Linked DNA regions of Homo sapiens: regions 1, 2, 4, 5, 6 and 7 are each linked to region 3. The links are contacts of gene promoters, found by promoter capture Hi-C in blood cells and fetal thymus (Javierre and others, 2016). All regions are on one chromosome and are shown on one strand. Each heading gives the region's core, a stretch centred on a gene start or on the middle of the fragment in contact. The rest is flanking DNA. Distances are from core to core; before and after follow the strand shown.

Region 1 (3,714 bases), core at 937-3,436, 1.5 Mb after region 3:
TTTCTTTTCCTAATGTACCCCACTTCCAACCTACCCCTACCTCAACTAGGGTATCTAGTTGTACCCAAGGGTGCTTCTACATTAGATCCACAGAGATTAAAGATAACAGTTAACAGAATAGTCCAGAGGACAAGGATATTCAAGTTCCATCATCTTCAGGATAAAAAAGCTCCAGGGTTTACCTCCAAACTCTCTCTAAAGGAAATCCCATCAACCTTTTAAACATCACTTTGTATACACCATCTTCTATACTGCCCTAGCTCAAAAACATGAACCTGTATCTAAACGTGTTTGTAGAATTTCCATTGTAAGTTTTACTTTAACAATTTTGAACAATTATAATGATAGAAAATTATTTAATCTAGATTTTGGTCAACTCTATTACTGATATTCTTTTTTAGTGAAGGACAATCACAAACACTAAATTTATACAGTCCAGAGAATGAAAGATTGCTTTAAAAAATTCCTTCCTTTTCTCACTGTAAAATAAAAATACCAAGGGGAAAAATGGAAAGTATTTATTATAACTGGCTGTTACACTGTCATACACAATGAAATACTGGACCATTAGCAGTTCGTTATTATATGTTGTTAAGTGTAGAACTGTAAATAATGAGGCATATTATTAAGATATCACACACATTATCCAATCAGCAAGTGCACAACTTCGGACATTTTGACTTCAGCCAAAATATGAAACAAAGTCATAGCAAGAAAGTTATTTCAAGGGAGTGAAATTTTCTCCTCTTACCCTTCAAATCTTTTAGAGATATTAATAAAAACAACTATCCAGCCTGGGCGATATAATGGGACTCCATCTACATACACACAAAAATTTTTAAAATTCGTTGGGTGTGGCAGCACACGCCTGTAAACCCAGCTACTTGGAAGGCTGAGGCAGAAGGATCCCTTAAGCCGGAGTTAGAGTCTGCGGTGAGCTATGATCTGACCACTGCACTACAGCCTGGGCGATAGAGCGAAACCTTGTAACAACAACAACAACAACAAAATTAAAACCTTCAAGATCAAGCTTGCCCAACAGGATGGCTTTGAATGCCACTCAATGCAAATCTGTAAACTTTCTTAAAACTTTATGAAAAAAAATTTTTTTTTAGCTCATTAGCTACCATTAGTGTTAGTGTATTTATGTGTGGCCCAAGACAATTCTTCTTCCAGTGTGGCCTAGGGAAGCCATAAGGACCCCCTGCGCTAGACTTCAGCAGAAGCCTTGTAACATAAAGAAAACCATACATAAGGCTTTAGATTCTTTTTTTTTTTTTTTTTTGTGACGGAGTCTTGCTCTGTCTCCCAGGCTAGAGTGCAGTGGCACATTCTCGGCTCACTGCAACCTCCGCCTCCCTGGTTCAAGCGATTCTCCTGCCTCAGTCTCCCGAGTAGCTGGGACAGGCACCTGCCACCGCGCCCGGCTAATTTTTCTATTTTTAGTAGAGACGGGGTTTCACCATCTTGACCTGGCTGGCCTCGAACTCCTGACCTCGTGATCCACCCGCCTCGGCCTCCCTAAGTGCTGGGATTACAGACGTGAGCCACCGCGCCCGGCCAGCTTTGGATTCTTTTACCACTTTCCCGAAGGAAAAGGAACTGAAAATATCTAAGGAAGGACTACTACGAATCTTCTCTGAGTGGCAAAAACCAGAGGTTTTTGGAGCTAGGGCTGCAGTTAAGTTGCCAAGGGGCAGAGATGTAAACAGTTCCTGGTTTAGTTAAAATATTTTAATTTTTATTTTTTTAAGCCTGGCCTTTGGGTGAAGGAGTAAAATTAGGCACTGGGGTCTGGGTAGGGGGAGGATACTCATGGGCGAGTATGCAACCCTAGGGCCACAGCACCCAAACTGTAGGGGAAGAGGCGGGGCGAGAGGGGACGAAGTAGAGACAGCAAGAGACTCACTTTTGAAAGGCACTTTCGGTTAGAAAGCATTCTCACATGCTTATCTCATCGCACACAGTATCCTTTCTGCTGGTCTCCAGCATCTACAGACGTTAAAGGCCCAAGAGGAGGGCCACCTTCACACGAGATTCCGAGGAGGGCCTCGCTACCCGCCAGTTCCCGCGCCTCGGCAGTCCGCCGCGAGCGTACGTCACTCGCCCGCCGCCAATCGGCGCCCGGCAGGTCACCTCTCCTCCCAGGGCCCGCCGCCCCGCCCGCCGCCCAGGCCGAGGCCGCCAGTGCCCGCCGGCCGCTTCCGCTCCCGGCGCAGGCGCGGCAGCTTGGCCAGAGCGGAGGGGGCTCGGGAGAGGAGTGGACGCCGCTGGCCAGGATGGTGCTGGAGAGCGTGGCCCGTATCGTGAAGGTGCAGCTCCCTGCATATCTGAAGCGGCTCCCAGTCCCTGAAAGCATTACCGGGTTCGCTAGGCTCACAGGTAATCCTCCCCCATCAGCCAGTCCCCATCCTTGCACGTTCGCCAAGCGGGGGAAGGAGGCGTAAAAATCCTAGGGCCAAGGGGCGGGACGGAGCTCGGCGCCTGGCACGTGATCCCCGCGCGCAGAGGAAGGTGGGCGCGCGCCGACGCAGCTGCCTGGGGAACGCCTGTGAGGCAGTCTCCGGGTGCTTGATGCCCCAGGGTCTTTTGTCCTCGGAGTTGTCTCCGGTGTCATTCCGTGGCAAGATACCAGGTTTTTGCAGAGAAGGTGCTGAGTTGGGAACAGGCCAGTCTCTTTCATCTCCTGTCCTGCTCATCGCTCTCTGTAGCGTACTTGTTTATTTTAAAGCGGGCTAAGTCGTCGTTATCTAAGGCCTCATGTAACAGGCAGCCCCAGCTACCGGCTGGGTTGTACCCTCAGCATGTGGGTGGGAGTGTGTGGGAGAGAAATATAGACTTACACGTAACACGTATATGACCGTTTTATTTAGTAACGAAATTAGGAGATAACCTCCATTCCCTCAGGTTAGAATTGACCTATCATAGGTGGCATTTGAGGTCATCTCCGTTTCTACGGTCCCGGGGCCCGCTGCGGTAACTTAAGTTGGAAGAAAGATACCTTACCCAAGAAAGTATTCGAAGGCCGGTATGAGGAGTGAAATCTTAGAAAATGAAATTTAGTGAATATATGTAACGTTCTATACTTAAGGACCCTCACTTAACCCACACAACTCATGAGGATTTCACATCTAAAGGATGAAAATCTCCAGAATGCAGTCAACACTTGGGAGATTGTGTTGAGTTATGAGCATTTCATTGTAAGGGGGATATTTCTAAACGGAACTCAGACCGAGTAGGATGGTGAAGGAATCAGCAAGTATTGAACTCCTATGTCCTAGGTTATCAGGGAGTGCAAACATGAATTAAGATAATTCTGAGGTAAATAGGGTTGCTTCGCCGGGAACGTTCTAAAGATCTGTAGTACCTGACCTAAAATACAGCAATCGCACAGCTGTCTGGTAGAAGAAAAATAAGATTTGTGTAGACTAAAATATAGAACTGATAACAAATTAACCAAATTAGTGAAGGTTATTGGGAGGTGAATTTCAGTCTAAGGAAGATTTTTTTTTAAATTAAAGAATGCTTTCCCCAAACAAATGTGGTGCTTCAGTGATAGCCCCTCTCAAAGATGAAAAAAACAAACAAAAAGACTCTGGTGGTGGGTGGTCGATAGATTTAGAAGGGATAAACTAGATGACAAATTCTCTTCCAAATCTAGAGATTCATTGAATTATGGTCAGACAGACGCTCTGTTGAGTGGATTGTGAGATT
Region 2 (3,703 bases), core at 1,052-3,551, 1.3 Mb before region 3:
TACAGAAAATCTAATTCCCAACTGATAACCCTGGGGTTTCAGCAGGCTAAAATTAGCCCAGCTAAATCCACTGAGTGTACTCTACTGCCACTTTTTTTTAAATTTGTCAATGATTGTAGAGTGGAGAAGATTACTAGCTTTGTCAGTCAGTTTTTGTATCACTATAAAGAAATACTTGAGGGTATTCTGCTTCTGGTGAGGGCCCCCCAAATCTCATGACCTTTTCACATTTTGAAATACAGTCATGCATTCATGATAGTTCCCCCAATACTTAACTCATTCCAGCCTAACTAAAAAGTCCCAAGTCTCAAGTCCCAAGTCCCAAGTCTTATCTGGAGATGAAGTTCTTTCAACTATGTGCCTATCAGATAAAAAATAAGTTATGTACTTCCAAGATACAATGGTGGTAGAGGCATTGGGTATACATTCCAAAAGGAAGAAATTGGCCATAAGAAGGGATAACAGGCCCTAACCAAGTCAGAAACCCAGCAGTGCAGGCATTACATTTTAGAGCTTTAACATAATTCTTGACTTCACGTCCCACATCTTTGTGTGAGGCTTGGGATCTCAAGGTTCTGGGAAGCCCCACTGCTGTGGTTTTGCAGGGTGCAGGCCATGTGGCTGCTCTCACAGGTTGGAGTTGAGAGAGTGTAGCTTTTCTAGGTAAAGGGTGCAAGCTGCCAGTGAATCTACCATTCTGCAACTCCACTAGGCCTCCCCTTCCTACAACTCCACTAGGCAGTGCCCTGGTGGGGATGCTGTGTGTGGGCTCCAAACCCACATTTCCCCTTAGTATTGCCCTAATAGTGCTTCTCTATGAGGGCTCCGCTCCTATGGCAGGCTTCTGCTGGGCACCCAGGCATTTCCATACATCTTCTGAAATCTAGGTGGAAGCCACAAAGCCTCCCTCATGCTTGCATTCTGAGCATCTGCAGGCTTAACATCATATGGCAGCCACCAAGGCTTATGGCTTGCACCCTCCAGAATGGCGGTCCAAGCTGAACCCGGCTTCTTTGAGCTGAAGCTGAAACTAGACTAGTTGGAATGTGGGGTGCAGTGCCCCAAGGCTGCTCAGGGGAGGGGGCCCTGGGCCTGGCCACCAACATCATGCTTTCCTCCTAGGCCTCTGGGCCTGTGTGGGGAGGCTGCCCTGAAAACTTCTGAAATGCCTTCAAAGCCCTTCATCCATTGTCTTGGATATTACTAGCACTTGGCCTCCCTTTTAGTCATGCGAATCTCTACAACATAGCCTGCCTGGATTCCTTTCCTGAAAATGCTTTTGCTTTCTTTACCACATGGCCAGGAGGCAAATTTTTCCATTTTTTTGCTCTGCTTCCCTTTTCATTATAAATTCCAACTTTAAGTCATTTCTTCACTCCTGTATCTAATCATAGGTTGTTGGAAGCATCCAGTTCACATCTTGGACCACTTTGCTGCTTATAAATTTCTTCTGCCAAATATCTTAGGTCATCACTCTTAAATTCGAACTTCCACAGATCTCTAGGTCATGAATCCAACCCAACCACATTCTTTGCTAGGGTGTAACATGGGTGACCTTAACTCCAGTTCCCAATAAGTTCCTCACTCCCGTCTTCCTTACTTCATCAGGCTCATTTTCACTCCATATTTCGATCAGCACTTTGGTCACAACCACTTAACAGCTTTCTAAGTCGTTCCAAACTTTCCTTCATCTTCCTGTCTTCTGAGTCCTTCAAACTCTTCCAACCTCTGCCCATTACTAAAAGCCACTTTCACATTTTCAGGTATCTTTATAGCAACATCCCTCTGCTCAGTACTAATTTTCTGTGTTAGTCAGTTTCTGCATTGCTATAAAGGAATATCTGAAACTAGGTAACTTGTAAAGAAAAGAGGTTTAATTGGCTCACAGTTTTGCAGACTGTACAAGCATGGCTCCAGAATCTGCTTCTAGTGAGGGTCTTAGGAAGCTTATAATCACGGCAGAAGGCAAAGGGAGAGCAGATGATGTCACATGGTGCGAGTGGGAGCAAGAGAGAGAGAAGGGGGAGGTCCCAGAGTCTTTTAAACAATCACATCTCACATGAACCAACTGAGCAAGAACTCACTCATCACCAAGGGGATGGTACTAAACCGTTCATGAAGGATCTGCTCCCGTGATCCAATCTCCTCCTACCAGGCCCCACCTCCAACACTGGGCATTATTTCAACATGAGATTGGAAGGGGACAAACATCCAAGCCATATCACCAGCTAACAGGAAGTTCTATTTGGCTGCCTCCTTGACTTTATTTTAGCACAGCTGTGAAGCAACTGTAGCATGTTACACAGGGTAGGGATTCTTAAAAAATATTTAGGCAAAGTGTGAAAACATAAACTATTGTATAATGAGTTAAAAAATAATTCAGATAATCAATATATATCGTTCAGTTAAGTAAATCCTCTTTCCTTGAGGAATGGCTCTCAATTAAAGGGAGACAGGAATCCAGGAGGAAGGAGAAAACATTCTATGTCCTTGTTTAGTTTATGTACATCCTGATGAACTAATGGCTGTACTTTGAAACGTAGAAGGCCCTGGATAAAACATTCTCTACGTTAATGTAATTTCACATTTCCTAGGCTACATCAGCTTAGGGCAGTGGTTTTCAAATTTTCTCAGTTGCAAAACAGTTTCTTAGGCAAAAGCTTACATGGAAGCTATAATATAGAAAGTTGGAGGGCATATAGCTGCTCTGATTAACAGAGATGTCAGGGACAAAGAACCCTGCCTGAGTCTCCAGCCCCGCTCCAGCTGTGTGTGGCTCCCGCACAGGTTTTAGTGGCACTCCTTAGGGTTCCAAGGAGTATAGTTTGAAAAACAATTTTGGGGATTTTAAAGGCACAAAGTAATGGTTGCAAAATGGCACTTTTTTTTCTGGCTTTACCCTGACCTCTTGAAAAAGTCCAATGCCCCTAAGATTCTTCTCAAAATTTTCTGGATATTTCTGGATGGAGTCAGCTAAAATGTCACCTACTCTTGCCTAATCATCCTGTCTGGAGTTGCATCCCTCAATTATGTTTTAAATATTGGTAAGTGTTTCTATTTAAAATTTTTAAATTTCAATAGCCTTTGGGGTATAGGTGGTTTTTGGTTATGTGGATGAATTGTGTAGTGCTGAAGTCTGAGATTTTAGTGCACCTGTCACCTGAGTAATGTATATTGTACCCAATATGTAGTTTTTTTATTCCTCACCCTCCTCCCACCCTTCCCGTTCTGAGTCTCCAGAGTTCCTTATTCCACTCTGTATACCTTCGTGTGCCCATAGTTTAGCTCTCACTTATAAGTGAGAACATACAGTTTTTGGTTTTCTATTCCTGAGTTACTTCACTTAGAATAGTGGCTTCCAGTTCCATCCAAGTTGCTGCAAAAGACATTGTTTTGTTCTTTTTTAATGGCTGAATAGTATTCCATGGTGTATTTATACCACATATTCTTTATCCTCTCATAAGTTGATGGGCACTTAGGTTGGTTTTGTACCTTTGCAATCATGAATTGTGCTGCAATAAACATGCCTGCAAGTGTTTTTTGTTTGTTTGTTTGTTTTGTTTTGTTTTGTTTTTGATACAGAGTCTCGCTCTGTCGCCCAGGCTGGAGTGCAGTGACCTGATCTCGGCTCACTGCAAGCTCCGCCTCCCAGGTTCACGCCATTCTCCTGCCTCAGCCTCCCGAGTAGCTGGGACTACAGGCG
Region 3 (3,213 bases), core at 156-2,655:
AAGGAAGCGCCGGGCTCCCCCCACGCTCTCCCGCTCTCTCGCGAGTCCTGTGCAGGCCCTTCCAGGGGGAGGGGGAGGGGGAGGGGGGCGCGGAGGGAATTGCTGCAATGGAGCTCCAAGACAACCCTGCCCAAGTGAGGCAGTCGGTGGAAAGCCACGGCCACATAAAAATGCCGTATTAATTTTTAAAAAGCCATCAATCACCCCTCCCTCTGCAGAAGAAAACCATAAACCCGATCCCATGCAAGCCTGTGAGCAGAGCCACCCACTTCCTATTTCTGTCACAGCAGCTACACCCTACCAGCAACCACCCCCCGGGCGCCCCCTCCCACCACCGCCACCCCCGCCGCCACCTCCCCGCGGCTCAGCCATTTGCCAACTGACGCCCCCGTCAATAAAAATGCCCCAAGTGAGGCTGGGTGGGACGCGTGGGGGAAGGGCGCCGCGGGGGCGGGGGGTTCGCGGGGTTCGCGGGTTGCACAATATCCTAGAAGGTCCGCGGCTGGAGCGGACAGAGGAGAACCTGGGGCGGGGGAGGGGAGGAAAGGCGAGGCGAGGCAAGCTGCCCTGGCGCCTGCGGCACACGGTGCACCCAGGCCACCGCGGCGCTCCGCTTACCTTTCACCACCCTGTCGGTCGTCGACAACTTGGGATCAATTGCCTTGGGCTCGGACATCTCCAGCTGCCGGAGGACAGCGACGCGCTGCTCGTCCGTCCGACTGCACACCCCGACCGGACCGGCGGGCCAGACACTCAACGCCGCCGCCGCCGCCGCCGCCGCCGCGCTGCAAACCGCTCGGCTGGAGGTCTAGGCTCTGAGCTGGCTTTAAAGTTGCTGCCTTTTCCGCGCGTCCCTCCTCCGCCGCCGCCGCCTTCACTCCTCCTCCGCCGCTGCCGCCAGCCCCGCCGACTCGCTCCGGGCTGCGCGTGTGTGGTGGTTATTTATTTATTTTCTGAGCACGCCTCCCGGTTCTTCTTTTATTCTTGGGGGAAGGGGGATGGGGAGGAGAAGCGCACACACGAGCACCCACCCCGGCACGGAGACCCAGCACCGCGGAATGGAGCCCCACGCGCGCACACACGGCCAGGATTAAGACCGATCACATGGGGAAGGCCGGGGGCGAGGGAGGAGAGGCAGGGCCGCCGATGTCAGTGCCACCAGCCGCACCTTGGCGTCCCCGGCGGCGGAGAGGCGGCCGCCGCTGCTGCCGCTGCTGCTGCCGCTGCCGCTGTTGCTGCTGCCGCTGCCCCTGCTTCTCCACACAGAGCGCCGCCGCTGGTGCCGCGGCCGCCGGAGACGTCCCGCCGCCGCGATCGCCCGCGCTCGCCTCTGCCTCCCCGCGCCGCTCCTCCACTCACCAAGGCACAGCCGCCGAGCTCGGCAGACACAGTCCCGGGCACAACCTACCCCCCTCCGCCGCCGCCGCCGCCGCCAACACCGCGCCCGCCTCCGCCTCCTCCCCTTCCTCCTCCCGGCCCCCGCCTCTTGCGCGCCTGCAGCCTCCTCCTCCCCACTGAGCCCGCCCCCGACCTCCCGCCCCGACGCCGGAGTTCCTCGCGTTCATTGGCTAGAGGGCGCATCACTCAGTGCCAGGTGGCGGCCTCCCCGCTTGTCCCGCCTCCCGCTCCTCCTCATTGTCCCCGCCCCTTGCTCTGTTTTCTTCCAGCTGCCGGACCAGCGGGCCTGCCGCCTCTACGGACCAGTCCCTGCTCAGGTGTCACTTTTGCTGGCAGGCCGAGATTAGGGCAGGAGAGTGGGCAAGGCGTCGCGGCCAGGAGGAGAAGGGCTCTACCACGCCACCCTCCTTTGGCCTCCGAACGCGGACCCCGCACACACACACCCGCGCCTCTTTGGCAAGCGTGCCTTGTCGGCTGGGTTAAGCCGCAGTGTGAGTAGCCAAGTGCAGAGGGTGTCTCCGGGTGTGTGCGTGGCCCACAAGAGGGCAAGAAGAGAGAAGGCGGGGATAGGAGGGAAGAGGGTGGGGGTGAGAGGCAGCCCTGAGAGGGCGGAGGAAGGAAGAGGCTGGGAGCTCGGCGCCCGCGGCGCAGCTGCCGTCGCTGCCGCAGCTGTCCAGGGAGGATCGCCAAAACGGCGACGAATAAACAACTTACCTTGCGGAGAAGAGCTACGACTGCGATGCGGTGTACGGTTGTTTTTGCTTTTGCGTTGGCGGCTTAGGGGCTGTTACTGTGTCCCACCCAGGCGTGCACACCGAGCGGCGGGGCGCTGTGGAACGCGGGAGCGGACTAGCGGAGGAGGATGCGGACCAAGCCCCAGCGACCCAGGGCAACTCGGAGCTACCTCGGGCAGCCCTGCGGGTCTCCGAGGAGAACCGAGGAGACGGGAGAAACATGGGAGAGGGTGGCCTTTTCCCTGTTCACACACACATGCACGCAGCCACTGGCCGGGACAGTTGACACCCATCTTCCTTCCCTGCTCCTTCCAGTCATTCTACACCCGCTTGGTGCTGCCAGTGCGGGCAGGGCCTTGGAGCCCAAAGCGGATCCCCACACTTGTCCCTACGGTCGGAAGGAAAGTAGAGGAGAGAAAGTCAGGCGCGGCAGGGCTAAGAGCAATAGTGGCCCAAATGTTCCTGGCCCGCCTGCTGCGCCACAGAGTCTGAAAAGCGGGTCTCCGTCTACCAGAAGGTGACCTCCACACAGCCCCTCTCCCCGACCAACTGCAGCACCCAAGGACTGGCAACGTGGTTGGAGCTTTTGGGGGGAATTATGAAGAAATCTGAATAAATTTCTCACCCTTCATGTTTCCTGTTTTATTTCCAAAGTCCTTCAGTATCAGGTTTTTCCTATTTCCTCAATTGGACCACGGGTCCAATAAAAGGTTTAAAATACACACACACACACACACACACACACACACACACAAAGAAAACAAAAACAAAAAAAAAAGTTTAGGGAGCTGGGAGATGAAGCCAAAAGAAATGTTTTGGAGACAAGGATTAGATTAAAGCTCAAACTTGAAAATCAATTTTGAGTAAGAGACTGATTGTGCTGCAGCGTGACTTTGATGTGGACTGCACGGAATAGAAACACACACTAGATACCTCTGTGGAGGCCTAGCAAAAGGAGCAGACGCAGGGTGTGTCCCACCAAGATAGGGAGGCTGCCACTGGCACTGAGATTCTGCTGCCCAATTTCCAACCCCAGGATACTGGGTGGCAATTAGACAATTCATTCAATAAAGATATTTTC
Region 4 (3,345 bases), core at 576-3,075, 1.5 Mb after region 3:
AGACGGCAGTTATGCTCTCTAGTGTATCCTTCAGGCAAAAGAAAGACCTTAATTTTTATGAGGAATTTAAAAGTGGGTAAGCACTGACCAGCTTAAGGTTTTTTAACATTCCTTAATGACCCCAGTTACCGAAGTGGAGATCTTCAATTACTTGGAAAAATAAACTTGTTTTAAAAATACACTTAATTTGAAAACTGTTGCAGAAAGTTTTACCTAATAAAAACTTAACACGTCAACAATGATGAATATAAGTAGTCTAATGTATACTGTTCAAGTGACCATGTAGTGTCACTAGTGAAGCAGTGCTTCTCAAACTAGTGTCCATAGGAACCACCTGGGGTTTTGTTGAAAATGCGACTTTGATTTGGTAGGGCAGTGGTGGAGCCTGAGAGCCTACATTTCTAACTAGCTCCCAGGTGATACAGATTTTTCTCGTCTGAACCACCCCGTGAGTAGCAAAGCACTGAAGTGCTTACCTCATGGCCTAACTGCTCATGAGGCTCACCTCAGTAACACCTCTGGCCCCTCCCTCCTCCCTGAATAATCTGTGTTCTCTCTCATAGCTAGCCAGATATACTAAAAGCACAGGACTAGGCATGAAGATGGAGGGAGGAACCCAGATTAGTTATTGCTTCCCATTTGCTTGATATTGGCCTGGTTAGTTATCTTCTAACCCCGTTTCTTCACCGCTAAAGTAAGTAATAATGACTGTCCTTTCTCACAGGGTGATTGTGTGGTTAAAGTGTCATAATATATGTGAAAGGACACTGGAGACTCTACAGTGCTGTATAAATGTCAGTTATTAAAGTAACCAGTCAGACATTAACTGGCCATAGTGTGAAACAAATGTATAGTAGTAATAGTGGCCACGCCTGTAATCCCAGCACTTTGGGAGGCTGAGACGGGTGGATCATATGAGATCAGGAGTTCGAGACCAGCCTGGCCAAAACAGTGAAACCCCATCTCTACTAAAAATACAAAAAATTAGCTGGGCGTAGTGGCGGGCGCCTGTAATCCCAGCTGCTTGGGAGGCTGAGGCCGGAGAATCGCTTGAGCCTGGAAGGCGGAGGTTGCGGTGGGCCAAGATCACTGCGACAGAGTGAGACCCTGTCTCAAAAAAAAACAAGAACAAAAAACAAAACTAATATATATGGAGTTCTAGATTATCCATGCTTATAAAGGCAAGTGATTGTGTAATCACAAACTCATTATTGTTAGGCAGTGAAGTAAATTCATTGGTTGATTGGGCTTTCTGTTTACAAGTTTGTATTTGCATAAGTGGACTTACATTTCTGCTTATATTTTGCCATGGTTAAAATCAAAAGAAACATAGCCTAGAAGCATTTTGATGCCTTAGGATAAAGCAGGCTAAGATTAAGTTAAATTTTAAAACATTATTCATGTACCTGTTGTTACAGAGAGCCCACTTTACAGTTGCAAATAAAGTTAAAACATTTTCATTCATTTAACTTACTTGAATTACAATGGTAGAGATGTCCTCATTTGAAACAAGAAAGGAAAATAATCATGTTTTTTATATTGCAGTCGGAAATAATGCTAACAAGAAAAAAATTATGGCTGTAAATACTGAAAGAAAAATTTACATTTAGAAATTAATAAAGGTACAAAAATGTTGAAAATTTAATTAACTAAAAATAATCCCTTCCTTAATAAATACTATTTTGAAGTCCTAAAAACTTTGTAAATATAGTAGATCAGATTATCTTGCATGAATTGACATAAAACATGAGAAAATAGAAAGGATCAAGAAAATTAAAGCTGGGCTGGTGGCTTACGCCTGTAATCCCAGCACTTTGTGAGGCCAAGGTGGAACGATCACTTGAGCCCAGGAGTTTGAGACCAGCCTGGATAACATAGGGTGACCCAGTCTCTACAAAAATAATAAAACAATTAGCTGAGCATGGTGGTACACGCCTATGGTCCCAGCTACTTGGGAGGCTGAGGTGGGAGGATTGCCTCAGCCTGGGAGGTTGAGGCTGCAGTGAGCTGTGATTGTGCCACTATACTCAAGCCTGTGATGGAGCAAGACCCTGTCTCAGAGAAAATTACTAGTAAATGGGCAATTAATCTACCAATCTGAATAATGGTGGTGTGCCAGGGTCTTATTACATGAATTTTTCAGTGAGGCCACGTTATTATAATAACTTGAGAGTAAGGGGTTAATTAGAATGTATTGATGAATAAACATAATTAACAGATTTTATATATATGTACTTAATATTGTATCTATGTTTTCATGTATCTTTAATTTTGTTACAGAATATTATAACTTGCCAAAGACACTGGCTCTAGTACAGTGTATACCATTTTATTAGTTTAATTAAATTGTAAATGCTACGGTCCAGATTTTATATTCAGAATGCTCATTTACATATTCTGCCTGGACCAAGTAATTTGGAGCCCAGGTCAACCAAATGTTATTTTACATTGTTTGCACAAAAATCAAATTGATTTCTATACTTAACAATTCAGAATCTCATTAAGTCAAATTAATATGGTTTAAGAAAGTGTACTTTATTTCATGCTAAGATGTCATTTTGGCCTTAATAAGGCTTTTGGCATGTAATGAAGCATGCACAAATCTTTGAGATAAAAATAGAGCATTTTTCCACACAAAAACATATATATACACAAATGTTCAGAGTAGGGCTATTCTACTTTTTAGTAGAAACAACTCAAATGTCCATCAGCTGATGAATGGATAAAGAAGATGTGATATATGTGTATAATGGAATATTATTATTATTATAAGGAACAAAGTACTAATACATGTTACAAAATGTATCTTGAAGCCTTAAAACATTCTGTCAAGTGAAAGAGCCAGACACAAAAGGCCACATACTGTTTGATTCTGTTTATGTGAAATGACCACAATAGTGCATTCTGTCTTCCAAAAAGCTGGTTTACTTACAAACACAGGTTAAAAAAATATATATTTGTAATACTGCTTTTGGTGTAGGGTGAGGCACGATAAAGAGACTTTCATTCGGTTTGTCAATCAGTGATACTTAGGTCTGAATAGGCAAGTGGGAGTCTTTCAGGTTTAGGACAAAGAATGTTAATGTAGTAGAGATCTGTTGATAGAGTCACTCCTAGTTTTCTATTTATTTAAAAAACATCGAATTACTATTAGGTGCTAGACACTGAAGATACATAAAAGACACAGATGTCATCTATAAGAAAGTCTCTTGAGGAGACCAGTAAGCATCAGACAACATCATAGAGTGGGTTCAGTGACATAAATGTGTGCACAGAGCACTATTAATGTACTGAACTCAGCTGGCGGTGGTCAGGGAAAGTTTCTCTGAGGAAGAGAGTTGTATT
Region 5 (3,202 bases), core at 681-3,180, 1.8 Mb after region 3:
AGTTGTTTACTCGTGATCCCGTGGCTGACTGAGAGCTGTGTCTTGCCGCCACTGCCCATGATCACAGTAGAGTATTGCTATCTTATGAAGAGATCAGAATTCAAAGTAAAGTTTTCACTGAATGCGTATCGCTCTCACACCATCCCTAAAGTTGAAAAATCTCAAGTTGAACCATGACAAGTTGGTGACCATCTGTGTATATTCTATTGGTTCTGTCTCTCTGGAAAATCCTAAGACAGATTTTGGTAACAGGAGAGGTTCTAGAGGAACAAAATTTTAAGGATGAGTTTCCTGAGTTGGTTTTGGGGTTCCTGGAATTGGCTCTTAGTCTGATTAGATTTGAAAATGCTAAAGGCTCTACTCTTTGAGATGGGGTCACACTCTTGAACAGGTTGGAGTGCAGTGGCACCATCATAGCTGACTGTAGCCTTGAATACCTGGGCTCAGGCCATCCTCCTGCCTCAGCCCTCCAAATTGTTTTTTTTTGGTAGAGATGAGGTCTCAGTATGTAGCCTAGGCTGGTCTCAAACTCCTGGTCTCAAGTGCTCCTCCTGCCTCAGTTTCCCAAAGTGTTGAGATTACAGGGATGAGTCACTGCGCCCAGCCTGGCTCTCCTTTTAATAGTACAGAGAGCACTGATTGTCCAAGAAATGAACTGTTCATAGAGGTATGCAAAATGTCTGCATTGGATACTCCTAATCAACCACTTCTTAGAGGTGAGGAACTTAAGTGACTCTATATATAATACTTTTTTTTTTTTTTCCGAGACAGAGTCTTGCTCTGTCGCCCAGGCTGGAGTGCAGTGGCATGATCTCGGCTCACTGCAACCTCTGCCTCCTGGGTTCAAGCGATTCTTCTGCCTCAGCCTCTCGAATAGCTGGGATTACAGGCACACACCACCATGCCTGGCTAATTTTTGTATTCTAGTAGAGACGGGGTTTCACCATGTTGGCCACGCTGGTCTCAAACTCTTGACCTTGTGATCCGCCTGCCTCAGCCTCCCTAAGTGCTGGGATTACAGGTGTGAGCCACTGTGCCCGGCCCTATAATACTTTCAAATATTTATGGAAAACTAAGAAATATACCAATGTTGGTTGGTTGCTTCTAATATTGTTGGGCAAAATTATTTAAAAAAAAAAAGGATGACTTCAGGGATTCAAATTCATGGCTCAAGCTCCACATAAGTAACCTAAGAGCTTATAGGCGTGCCCTGAAAGAGGATCTTCTCTCCTGTAGACATGAGGCTAAAATTGCTGAAAATCAAACACCAGTCTTCATCATTTGATTGGTGCAATTACAAAAGGCCTCAGTGTGTCTACTGGTAAAATAAGCCACAGTGACTGGGAGAGTGAGATTCTATAAGTTGGGATGGGGACGTGTGGGAAGACCCTGAAGCCAGGAACATTGAGTTTTTTTTTTTTTTTTTTTTTTTCAGTTTCACCCTGTTGGCCAGGTTGGAGTGCAATGGCATGATCTCGGCTCACTACAACGTTGACTTCCAGGGCTCAAGTGATCCTCCCACCTCAGCACCCCCGAGTAGCTGAGACTATGGCCATAAGCCACCATGCCAGGCTAATTTTTGTATTTTTTGTAGAGACGGGGTTTCACTATGTTGCCCAGGCTGGTCACGAACTGCTAGGCTCAAGAGTCCCACACCTCAGCCTCCCAAAGTGCTGGGATTACAGGTGTGAGCCACCATGCCTGGCCAGTTCCTACATTCTGATGAGTTTTTTTTTTTACCAGCTGTAGTGGCCTCTCCAACCTCATTGGGGTTGGTAATGGCCTTTCCACCTTTGTCTGAAGGGTTAACCCTGCATTGCCTGAGGAAATAATAATGGCCTCCCCTGAGGCAGCTGCCAAGCAAGACAATGCTGATTCTCCTCAGGACCTACCCCCACCACCCCTCTATGCTCCTAGACCTATAACTAGACTCAAGTCCCAGCAGATCCCTAATGTGAGGTACAAAGTGTGGCCCATGAGGAGCTGCATCACAATCAAAAGAACCACTTGAGTTTTCTAACTTATATAAGCAGAAATCTGAGAAAAATGTGTGGGGATATTAAGGGTGTGGGATAATGGTGGCAGCAAAAGGGACAGAGCTTATTTGAAGAAATAATGGCCACAAACTTCCCAAATTTGAGGAATAAAATGGACACCCAAATTCAAAAGTTAAGCAATATTCTACTAGGCTGGCTACCTGACAACTAGATTTTTAATGGCTTTAATGTAGTTTTATCAATCAGGTAAACAACCACTACTTTGGGTTACTTTTGTTCAGTGGAGAAGCAGACATAAAGAATCAAACCTGCAGGCATGTTAGTGTTTTGTTTGGATAAGGGTGGAAAGCAGAAGACAGACTCTCAAGGTACAGGTCTGGGGGAAAAGATTTTAGGAAGGGATAGTTTCCCCTTAGTCTTTGTTAATTCCTTTGGTGGTATGTTAAGATACGGAGAAATATCCAATCCACAGACTTTGAAATACTAGATATGATGCAATCAATAATCTCTCCCTTTGAATGAATCTTACCAAAGAGCCGAGAATGACTTGAAATCACTTTACCTCTGTTCTATAACCTAATGCAACTTGTTTTAAGTGGTTTTTCAAAGTCATATGGTATAAAAGTAATATCAAATATCCTCTAAAACCATAGTTCTTAGATTTTTACAGGATCACGGGCCCCTCTAAGAATATGATAAAACAAAGTATAAACCCCAGTATCCCCTCCCCCCAAATAAATCCACACAAAAAAGTTCATAAAAAATTTCAAAAATTTTACAGATTACAAGAAGTCCATCCATATATGCTTTATCTATCTGTGGGGACTCCAGGTTTAGAAAACTTTACTTTGATAAAAACTCTGGTACTGTTTCCTTATGTCTACAATGAAGAGGTAGAATAAATGATCTATAGGTTCCTCCAGGCTGGGAGTGAGGGGCAATGAAAAACAAAGTCTATAATAAACCAACCAATTTAGAGAGTTTGTATAGGGATTGGGATAGGTAGGTTACCAGAAATGTGAGAAAGAACTTCTGTGGTTATTACAGTAAAAGGAATATTAGAACTGGAAAGTTAAGAGGACATAGCCTCTGCTATCCTTTAAGAATTTAAATCCAGATCCAGAAAACTTGTGTATATTTTCATAGCAAAATACTGAGTCAACAAGAGAGACTACCTCACCAAGAAACCATTAACATTATATAGA
Region 6 (3,604 bases), core at 4-2,503, 1.2 Mb before region 3:
TATTTGCTCACTGTCACATCTTTGCAGCTGTGGAGAAGACTAAGCAGAGATTTAAGAATACTCCTATCCCAAGGTTGCACAATTTGTAAGTGGCAGGAATGTAGTCTTCTGATTCATATTCCAGTGCTTGTCTTAATGTGAAAGTTATGAAAATAAATCAAATTTTGTACTTTCATGGAGCAAATGTTACTATCAGATCAGTTGTGTCTACATTTCACCAAAATATTTACCAATCCAGAAAAAAAAATAAGCCAATATGAGATACTTGGCACCACGTAGGAAACCACATTGGATTTCTCAGTTTTCAAACAATTATCCTGATGTCAAGAAGATGTGACCCCAGAAATATGAAAAAAATAAAATGTCAGTTGTCTTGGTGACCTTTCTTTTGATGCTAAGCTTCATATAATAGGCATCTACAGGTTTCACTTTTAGACTGTGTTCTTCTACAGAGTGGCAGGAGAGATGCTGAAATTTGTGCCAATATTTCACTGGAGGTGATCATTTTCAATCTATGTACATAGGGACACAGCTGGAGTGACAGACACTTCTGCCAATTATGACACCTAGATGGATTTTGACAGAAAAATGACAGTCATGACAGCATTTCCTCCAGAGCCTAAAAACTGTGAGTAGGTCAGAAGAGTTATCCAGTAGGCTGTAGATTCTGTCTCCTTCTAAGCAACCAAAAGCAGGGTTGTTCCCCTCTGTGATGTCATTCCCTGAGAGTCAGAGTATGTGTCTATCATCCTTAATGTGGTTTTAAAGACATTTTATTATAAAGTTAATATATACTGGTTTGTAAAATTAAACTCTGTAGAAGGTTGTGGAGAAAAAAATATCTCCTATTTCCCCACCCCTATTTCTACTTCCCAGAGTTAGTCATTCTCAAAAATGTATATATATACACATGTATATGTATGTGTATATATATACATTTTTGAGAATGACTAACTCTGGGAAGTAGAAATAGGGGTGGGGAATATATATATGTATATATGTATATATATGTATATATGTGTATATATGTATATATGTATATATGTGTATATGTATATATGTATATATGTGTATATGTATATATGTATATATGTGTATATGTATATATGTATATATGTGTATATGTATATATGCTCTTTGTATGTGGGATTCATTCTTCTCCCTGCATCTCAGCTCTAACCTCCTCTCCTCAGAGAGGCCTTGCCTGACCACTCACTGTACAAGGTAATTCCCCAGTTATATTCAGTCTCCTCATGCTGTTTATTTCCCTCATAGCCTGAATCACAATGGCTCTAATTTGTTCTTTCCCATGGTCTTTCTCACTAGAATGTAAGCTCTACAAAGAAAGGGTGCTTGTCTGGCTTGCTTACTGCAATTTCTTCTCTAATCAAGATGTTGTTAAGGGTGTCATTCATTGCATTATGCAAAGTCTTCTTTATTTCTTTCTGGATTTTTTTTTTTTTTTGATGGAGTTTCGCTCTTGTCACCCAGGCTGGAGTGCAATGGTGCGATCTTGGCTTACTGCAACCTCCGCCTCCTGGGTTCAAGTGATCTCCTGCCTCAGCCTCCTTAGTAGCTGGGATTACAGGCACCCACCACCACAACAGGCTAATTTTTGTATTTTTAATAGAGATGGGGTTTCACCATGTTGACCAGACTGGTCTTGAACTCCTGACCTCAAGTGACCCAACCGGCTCGGGCTTCCAGAGTGCTGGGATTACAGATGAGAGCCACCATGCCTGGCCCATTCACTGCAATTTCTTAGTGCTTGTCAGAAGCATTCAATAAATATTTGCTGAATAAATTGTTGAATGAATGGGATCCTGATAAATTTCTTAGTTCCAGATGCTGCTGAGGATAGGCCTCGGTACTTGTGTACTGTAGGATAATTCTGTGCCCTTGTATTGAACCCCTCCTTCTGAGCAAGTTTGAATGGGAGTTCTATAAAATCAAACATGTTTTGATAATTTTTCCCACTAATTTATATATAACTATGAGAGAAACATTTAATAAATATATAAATATTTGCCCAAAGGAACACTGTTGCACATACAAAGATATGGCACTATCAAATACAACCATTGAAGGCAGGCAGCTTTCCCAAGTGGAAGCTTACAGTTGCTCGTTGGATGATATACAAAATTCCTAATTAGGCATATAAAAAATGGTGCTGTTGTTTCAACGTTCAGTTTGTTTGAAAGTTCAATGCACAAAGTCATATACCCCCAAGGCTGTGTATGTCAAGTTAACCTGACAGAGAGCTATTCTGTTTGTGCCAACTTTATGAATTTCCTCTAAACAGCAGTGATTTGTCTAAAAAACATCTCCTATCTGTATGTATGCAGAAAAGCTGTGCTCACTGAGATGTCTAGATTTATTGTTGATGCATTATTATGGTCTTGAACTCCTGGGCTCAAGTGATCCTCCTACCTCGGCCTCCCAAAGTGCTGAGATTACATGCATGAGCCACCATGCCTGGACAATTTTTTTTTTTGCTTATGAATTCACCTTATTTTATATATAAGGCAAATGATATAATTTTGCACTTCACGTTTTAACAATCTCTTTATTTATTTACTGTATTGAATTTAAGCTGGACATATGGGATTGCCCATTTTACAAGTAAAGCTCAAGAAGCTAAATGCTTTCCAGAGTTTACAATGAGTGAGGGACAAACACTGGGATGAGGGCCTCCAACCATCCAACCATCCAACCATCTCATCAAAAGAGTAATTAAAAATTATTCATGCAGGATTTGCAAAGAAAATAGAAAAACTGGGTTCTGCGCCCTTAATCCAACACCTTCCTAAAGGATATAAAAGAGTTGAGGTTGAAGAAAGAGAATGAGGAAGTATCTTTGTGGAAAGTTGTCGGAGGCCTGTGGCATTTTCCTTCCCCTTCCCTTCAGGGATGTAGGTAGGGAAGTGCTTTCTTTTCAGCTCAAGTCTAATGAGAATACTTTTGAAGGGGCTGAATTCAAGCTTACTATGTGTCTCCTGGAATTTTGAGGATACACAGGAGACTGGTGGTTGACTTGCACTGAAAAAAAAGAAAGGCAGATATATCAGGAATTGCTTATGATGGCAGAGTGAGGACAGTGGGCAGTGCTGGAGCGTGGATTGATGTGGGAAGAATGTATGAGCTCCTGCTGGCCAGGTGGCTGCCACAGAAGGCAGCCAGGTGAAAGCTATGTGAAAAACCCTTCCCAAGAGGGAAGCCTGCCAGGATGGGAGACCAAAGCAGTAGGAAGCTATGGGTCTACACTAGGGCAGGGAGGTAGGAAGTAGAGGATACAGAAAGGTTAGTTGGAGGATGTATCACCCTTGAGGAAATGGTGCAGTTTAGTGTTCAGCTCTAGTGATCCACTGTGGTCAGAAAGCACCAACGTTAGACCACAACAGAACTACTCTAGCAAGACCTTTGTTTCTTTTTTGTCTTCACTTCCTTGCCAGCCTGCCCCAGTGGGTGGGGATACTGTGGTAAAGGTTGGATGGGGTGAAACAATTAGAAATGTGGCAAGGGACTTGAGGGAAGAACTGGTACCATGGAAACAAAGAAGGTTGGCCAGACATCCCAATCCCTTCCCTGCTGCAGATTTCTGCCT
Region 7 (3,459 bases), core at 866-3,365, 1.7 Mb after region 3:
GATTCATTCATTCATTCAACAAACAAGAGCTATTAAGCTCTTGTTACGTCCCAGTCCTTGAGCTGAGGATTCAGAAGTGAACGGTCTTAAATAGTTCCTATATTCAGATCTTGTAATCTAGTTACAGGATGATAAAGGATGATAAATGATTCCTAAGCAATCACAATGAAATATGGTTAAGTTTCAACTTTAGACACATAACAACCCCATCCCTTAACAAGTTTCATTTCCTTTTTTTTCTTTTCTGAGATGGAGTCTTGCTCTGTCACCTAGGCTGGAGTGCAGTGGCACAATCTTGGCTCACTGCAACCTGTGCCTCCTGGGTTCAAGCGATTCTTCAGCCTCAGCCTCCGGAATAGCTGGAATTACGGGCGTGCACCACCATGCCCAGCTAATTTTTATATTTTTAGTAGAGATGGGGTTTTACCATGTTGGCTAGGCTGGTCTCGAACTCCTGACCTCAGGTGATATGCCCACCTCGGCCTCACAAAGCCTTAACAAGTTTCTCTGGTGTGATAGGCACAAGAGTAACAAAGATGACTAAGATGCAGTCTGCCCTTTAAGGGATGGTCAGAGACTGATATGTGTTTACCAAAATCGTTTACTCTTCTGCCTGGGTCCATAGTACATTTCCAGTCTCCCTTGCAGGTCAGTGTGGCATGTGACTGAAGTCTGGTCAATGGCATGTGGACATAAATAGTATGTGATTTCCAGTCCTCACCCATAAGAAACAATCCTCATGCAATCCTCTAGTAGCTTTTCTTTTTCTGTCCGTTGCCTGGAAACTAAGGACTCCAAGGTCTTAGGGGATAGCAAAGCCATAATATAAAAGGAGTTTGGGTTCCTGAATAATTGAGTAGAAGGCCAACAGCTGAACACGTGAATGGACTTGACATGAACGAGAAATAAGCCTGAACTATGTTTAGTTACTGAGATGTTTTACTTTATCTCTTACAGCAGCTACTGCTGTCTTAAGGTTATATTCTTCAGTCAATAGCATACGATGATTCTTAGCACCTCGAGGATGCTAACCCAGTCCACAAAGGCAACACCCCCTCTGGTTAATCTGAGAACTAAAATAAAAGCAAGCAAGAAAACCCACGCCAACACCTTACAACAGTAAACAGACACGCGCCCGTCACCGGGTGTACAAACAGAAAAGGCTGGGCCCCTCGCTCGCGTCTCCGGTCCAGCAGGCCTACAGGGTACCCGCCGCTGGCGCTGGGTTTATTTTTACCCTTAGTGTCTCTGGGGCCTCTCACCTGGCAGTCTCCGGCGAAGTCGACCAGGCTCCGTCTGAACGATTAGGAAAGGGGCTGTGGGGGAGGCGGCGGAGCCCGGTCTAGCCACCGCGCTCTGGGGTTCCCGATTCGCGCATCTTCCCAGGCTGAGCCGGGAGGCTGCGTTGACTGCAGATAAACGGTCTCAGGGCGCGGCACCGCGTGTAGTCGGCCCCGCCTTTCGCACGAACCCGCTGGGCGACACCGCGCAGGGAGGTCCGACCCGTCGGCGCCGGTACAGGCTCCGGAGTAAGCATGGGTTGGTCCGGGGCCCGCAGCGGCAGCCCCGTGTGCCCTCCGCCGGGTTTCAGGTCCGGCGGCGCGGGTGCAGAGCCGCGTGCGATGCCTGGTGCGCGTGGCTTCCCCCGGAAAGGTGGCGCCAGGCCGACCATGGGCCCACGTCCCGGGGCCTCGGAGCGGCACCGCGCGGTCTTTCAGCTGCTTATCCTCCCTGGGCGGGTCCGCAGGCTTCTGGGGCCAGGACCAGCGAGCTCCCGGGAAAGCTTCCCGGAAAGCTTACCCAGAGAGCGCGGACCCAGGCGCCGAGTCTTCCCGGAGATGACGAGACACCGCGAGAGGAGCACAGCGCAGGCTCCTCGGGACTCCGCGGCGCAGGCCGGGCAGCCCGTTACTTGTTTTATCGTTCCCGAAACCAACCTCTAAGTTGTCTATCAGTCCTCCACCTTTTAGCTGTACCTCTTAGAAGTGTCTTCTCAGCTGCGGTGGGAAGATAGGATTCTTTCTTAAGGTGACCAATTAAATGGCCGGATAAAAGACTTGTTCTGCCCCCCTTTATCGCTTAACACCTGCCCTTCTTGTTGTATTTTAGATTTTTAACCCTTCTATCAGCAGTGTGATTCTATTTCATTTAATTCTCATTTCATGTTTGTGTCTTCCTTTTCTCTGTATTTCCTCTTGTGTGTGTTAAGACGCGCGCACCCCTTACCTGTTTTTCACTCCTGTAAGCAAGTGCCAATCTTAATCACCGCTTTTCAAGCAAGGGAGATTATCCTCAAATTTCTCCACCAGTCAGAAACCATTCATTCTTGTCTCTCAGGTCCTCTTTTGTGATGAACCTATTGGATAGGTTCCATCCAATACCCTTCTTCAGATCATCTGAAATGATTATTTTCCTAAACGGAACTCTTCCTCTCCTAAAGCTTGTAAAAATTTCTAGTGACATTCAGCTTCCTCTTACCACAGGAATGACATATATTTTTCCTTTTAGTCATATGTACTTCATTAATATATCACCTGATTTGATTAACATGACTTTGGAGAACATTGAATTTTTTGGCTAGATTTTACTTCGTTTTTATTGCTGATAGTGTTTATAAAAATGTTTTATAGTTTATGGTCGGCTGTGAGAAAGACTAACTCAGATCATTTGTTAATGTTGGAGCCCATTTTGTAGAATTCGTTGTGCATTTATTTAAAATTTATTTGTTCATAGCTATACATATATTATACATGTATACCTGCTCACAGCATAAAGTATTTCATGACATACTTGTAAGAGTCAGTGTTCTATGAATTCACTAGAGAAGTTACAGCATTTTGATTATGATACACGAAAAGAAACCCAAGTCATTTAGCTTAACTCCTTAATTTCATAAACCAGAAAACTAAAATCCAAGATAGATTGGGTGACTTGGTCTAGATCACAAACCAAAGTTAGCCATAATTCGGTAGTGTAGTGCCCGGTCCAAAACCTCATAGATAATCTTATAATCAATGGACTCTTTCTGAATGCTAGTCAAAATGTCCTTTTGTGTGAATTTTAATGTACCGTCATCAACTGCATGATATTCTTCCCCATACACAAAGTGTTATCTTTTTGTTGTCCATTTCAGAATTTTCCATGTTAATATTAAAGTTCTAGGAAAAAAGGCTAAGAATCACTGCACATTTATTGAGTATCTCAGTGTGCATCATACCATTTGGTCATTTGAGGTTGCAACAAGTAAAAAACAAACATAAAACCCTTAAATTAAAATAAAAACAAAAAACTTTGCCCTGACAATGTTACAGAATTAACATCCATAAATTTACTTTTCTTGAAAAATTTATTTTCTTTAATTTCGTTTGTTTCCTGTTACATAATTTATATTTAAATTTACATTTATTTATCCAGAAACTATGTCCAAATTTTATGTCCTCTTTTCTGTTATCCTGGAGT

Evidence for each region. The method cuts DNA at HindIII sites, captures the fragments that hold promoters and counts their contacts. A CHiCAGO score of 5 or more calls a contact.
Region 1: the fragment with the promoter of CISD2 here is called in contact with the fragment with the promoter of PPP3CA in region 3 in 1 of 17 cell types (fetal thymus); the score reaches 6.6 in fetal thymus.
Region 2: a fragment that was not itself captured here is called in contact with the fragment with the promoter of PPP3CA in region 3 in 1 of 17 cell types (naive CD8 T cells); the score reaches 6.7 in naive CD8 T cells.
Region 4: a fragment that was not itself captured here is called in contact with the fragment with the promoter of PPP3CA in region 3 in 1 of 17 cell types (fetal thymus); the score reaches 6.2 in fetal thymus.
Region 5: a fragment that was not itself captured here is called in contact with the fragment with the promoter of PPP3CA in region 3 in 1 of 17 cell types (fetal thymus); the score reaches 6.1 in fetal thymus.
Region 6: a fragment that was not itself captured here is called in contact with the fragment with the promoter of PPP3CA in region 3 in 1 of 17 cell types (naive CD8 T cells); the score reaches 5.6 in naive CD8 T cells.
Region 7: a contact is called between a fragment that was not itself captured here and the fragment with the promoter of PPP3CA in region 3, in 4 of 17 cell types (fetal thymus, naive CD4 T cells, activated CD4 T cells and 1 more). The highest score is 11.8, in fetal thymus.

Annotation. Positions count from the first base shown.
Region 1 is chr4:102,866,806-102,870,519 of GRCh38, forward strand. It overlaps CISD2 (CDGSH iron sulfur domain 2), which reads left to right and starts at 2,187. Exons shown (of 3, transcript NM_001008388.5): 1 at 2,187-2,382. The coding sequence starts at 2,280. It also overlaps a transcript of UBE2D3 not described here. RefSeq lists an enhancer at 1,638-1,777 and silencers at 2,008-2,297, 2,328-2,447. The HindIII fragment of the contact is 11,662 bases long and covers 1,029-3,714 here.
Region 2 is chr4:100,085,781-100,089,483 of GRCh38, forward strand. No RefSeq gene overlaps it. Among named protein-coding and RNA genes, the nearest start is that of DDIT4L-AS1, 100 kb to the right of the region's middle. The HindIII fragment of the contact is 714 bases long and covers 1,945-2,658 here.
Region 3 is chr4:101,346,121-101,349,333 of GRCh38, forward strand. It overlaps PPP3CA (protein phosphatase 3 catalytic subunit alpha), which reads right to left and starts at 1,406. Exons shown (of 14, transcript NM_000944.5): 1 at 619-1,406. The coding sequence starts at 676. PPP3CA-DT (PPP3CA divergent transcript) reads left to right here and starts at 1,657. Exons shown (of 2, transcript NR_033874.1): 1 at 1,657-1,889; 2 at 2,204-2,763. RefSeq lists silencers at 1-181, 202-561, 1,032-1,641. The HindIII fragment of the contact is 5,765 bases long and covers 1-3,213 here.
Region 4 is chr4:102,828,806-102,832,150 of GRCh38, forward strand. All of the region lies in intron 1 of UBE2D3-AS1 (UBE2D3 antisense RNA 1), which reads left to right. It also overlaps a transcript of UBE2D3 not described here. Among named protein-coding and RNA genes, the nearest start is that of UBE2D3-AS1, 2.4 kb to the left of the region's middle. RefSeq lists enhancers at 467-526, 567-646. The HindIII fragment of the contact is 4,037 bases long and covers 1-3,345 here.
Region 5 is chr4:103,102,599-103,105,800 of GRCh38, forward strand. No RefSeq gene overlaps it. Among named protein-coding and RNA genes, the nearest start is that of BDH2, 4.4 kb to the left of the region's middle. The HindIII fragment of the contact is 4,331 bases long and covers 1-3,202 here.
Region 6 is chr4:100,103,785-100,107,388 of GRCh38, forward strand. It overlaps LOC107986232 (a long non-coding RNA gene), which reads left to right. Exons shown (of 3, transcript XR_001741515.2): 3 at 28-678. Among named protein-coding and RNA genes, the nearest start is that of DDIT4L-AS1, 84 kb to the right of the region's middle. The HindIII fragment of the contact is 1,712 bases long and covers 398-2,109 here.
Region 7 is chr4:103,074,922-103,078,380 of GRCh38, forward strand. It overlaps SLC9B2 (solute carrier family 9 member B2), which reads right to left and starts at 1,840. Exons shown (of 12, transcript NM_178833.7): 1 at 1,263-1,840. It overlaps BDH2 (3-hydroxybutyrate dehydrogenase 2), which reads right to left. Exons shown (of 10, transcript NM_020139.4): 10 at 2,671-3,459. RefSeq lists a silencer at 1,500-1,609 and an enhancer at 1,720-1,839. The HindIII fragment of the contact is 645 bases long and covers 1,794-2,438 here.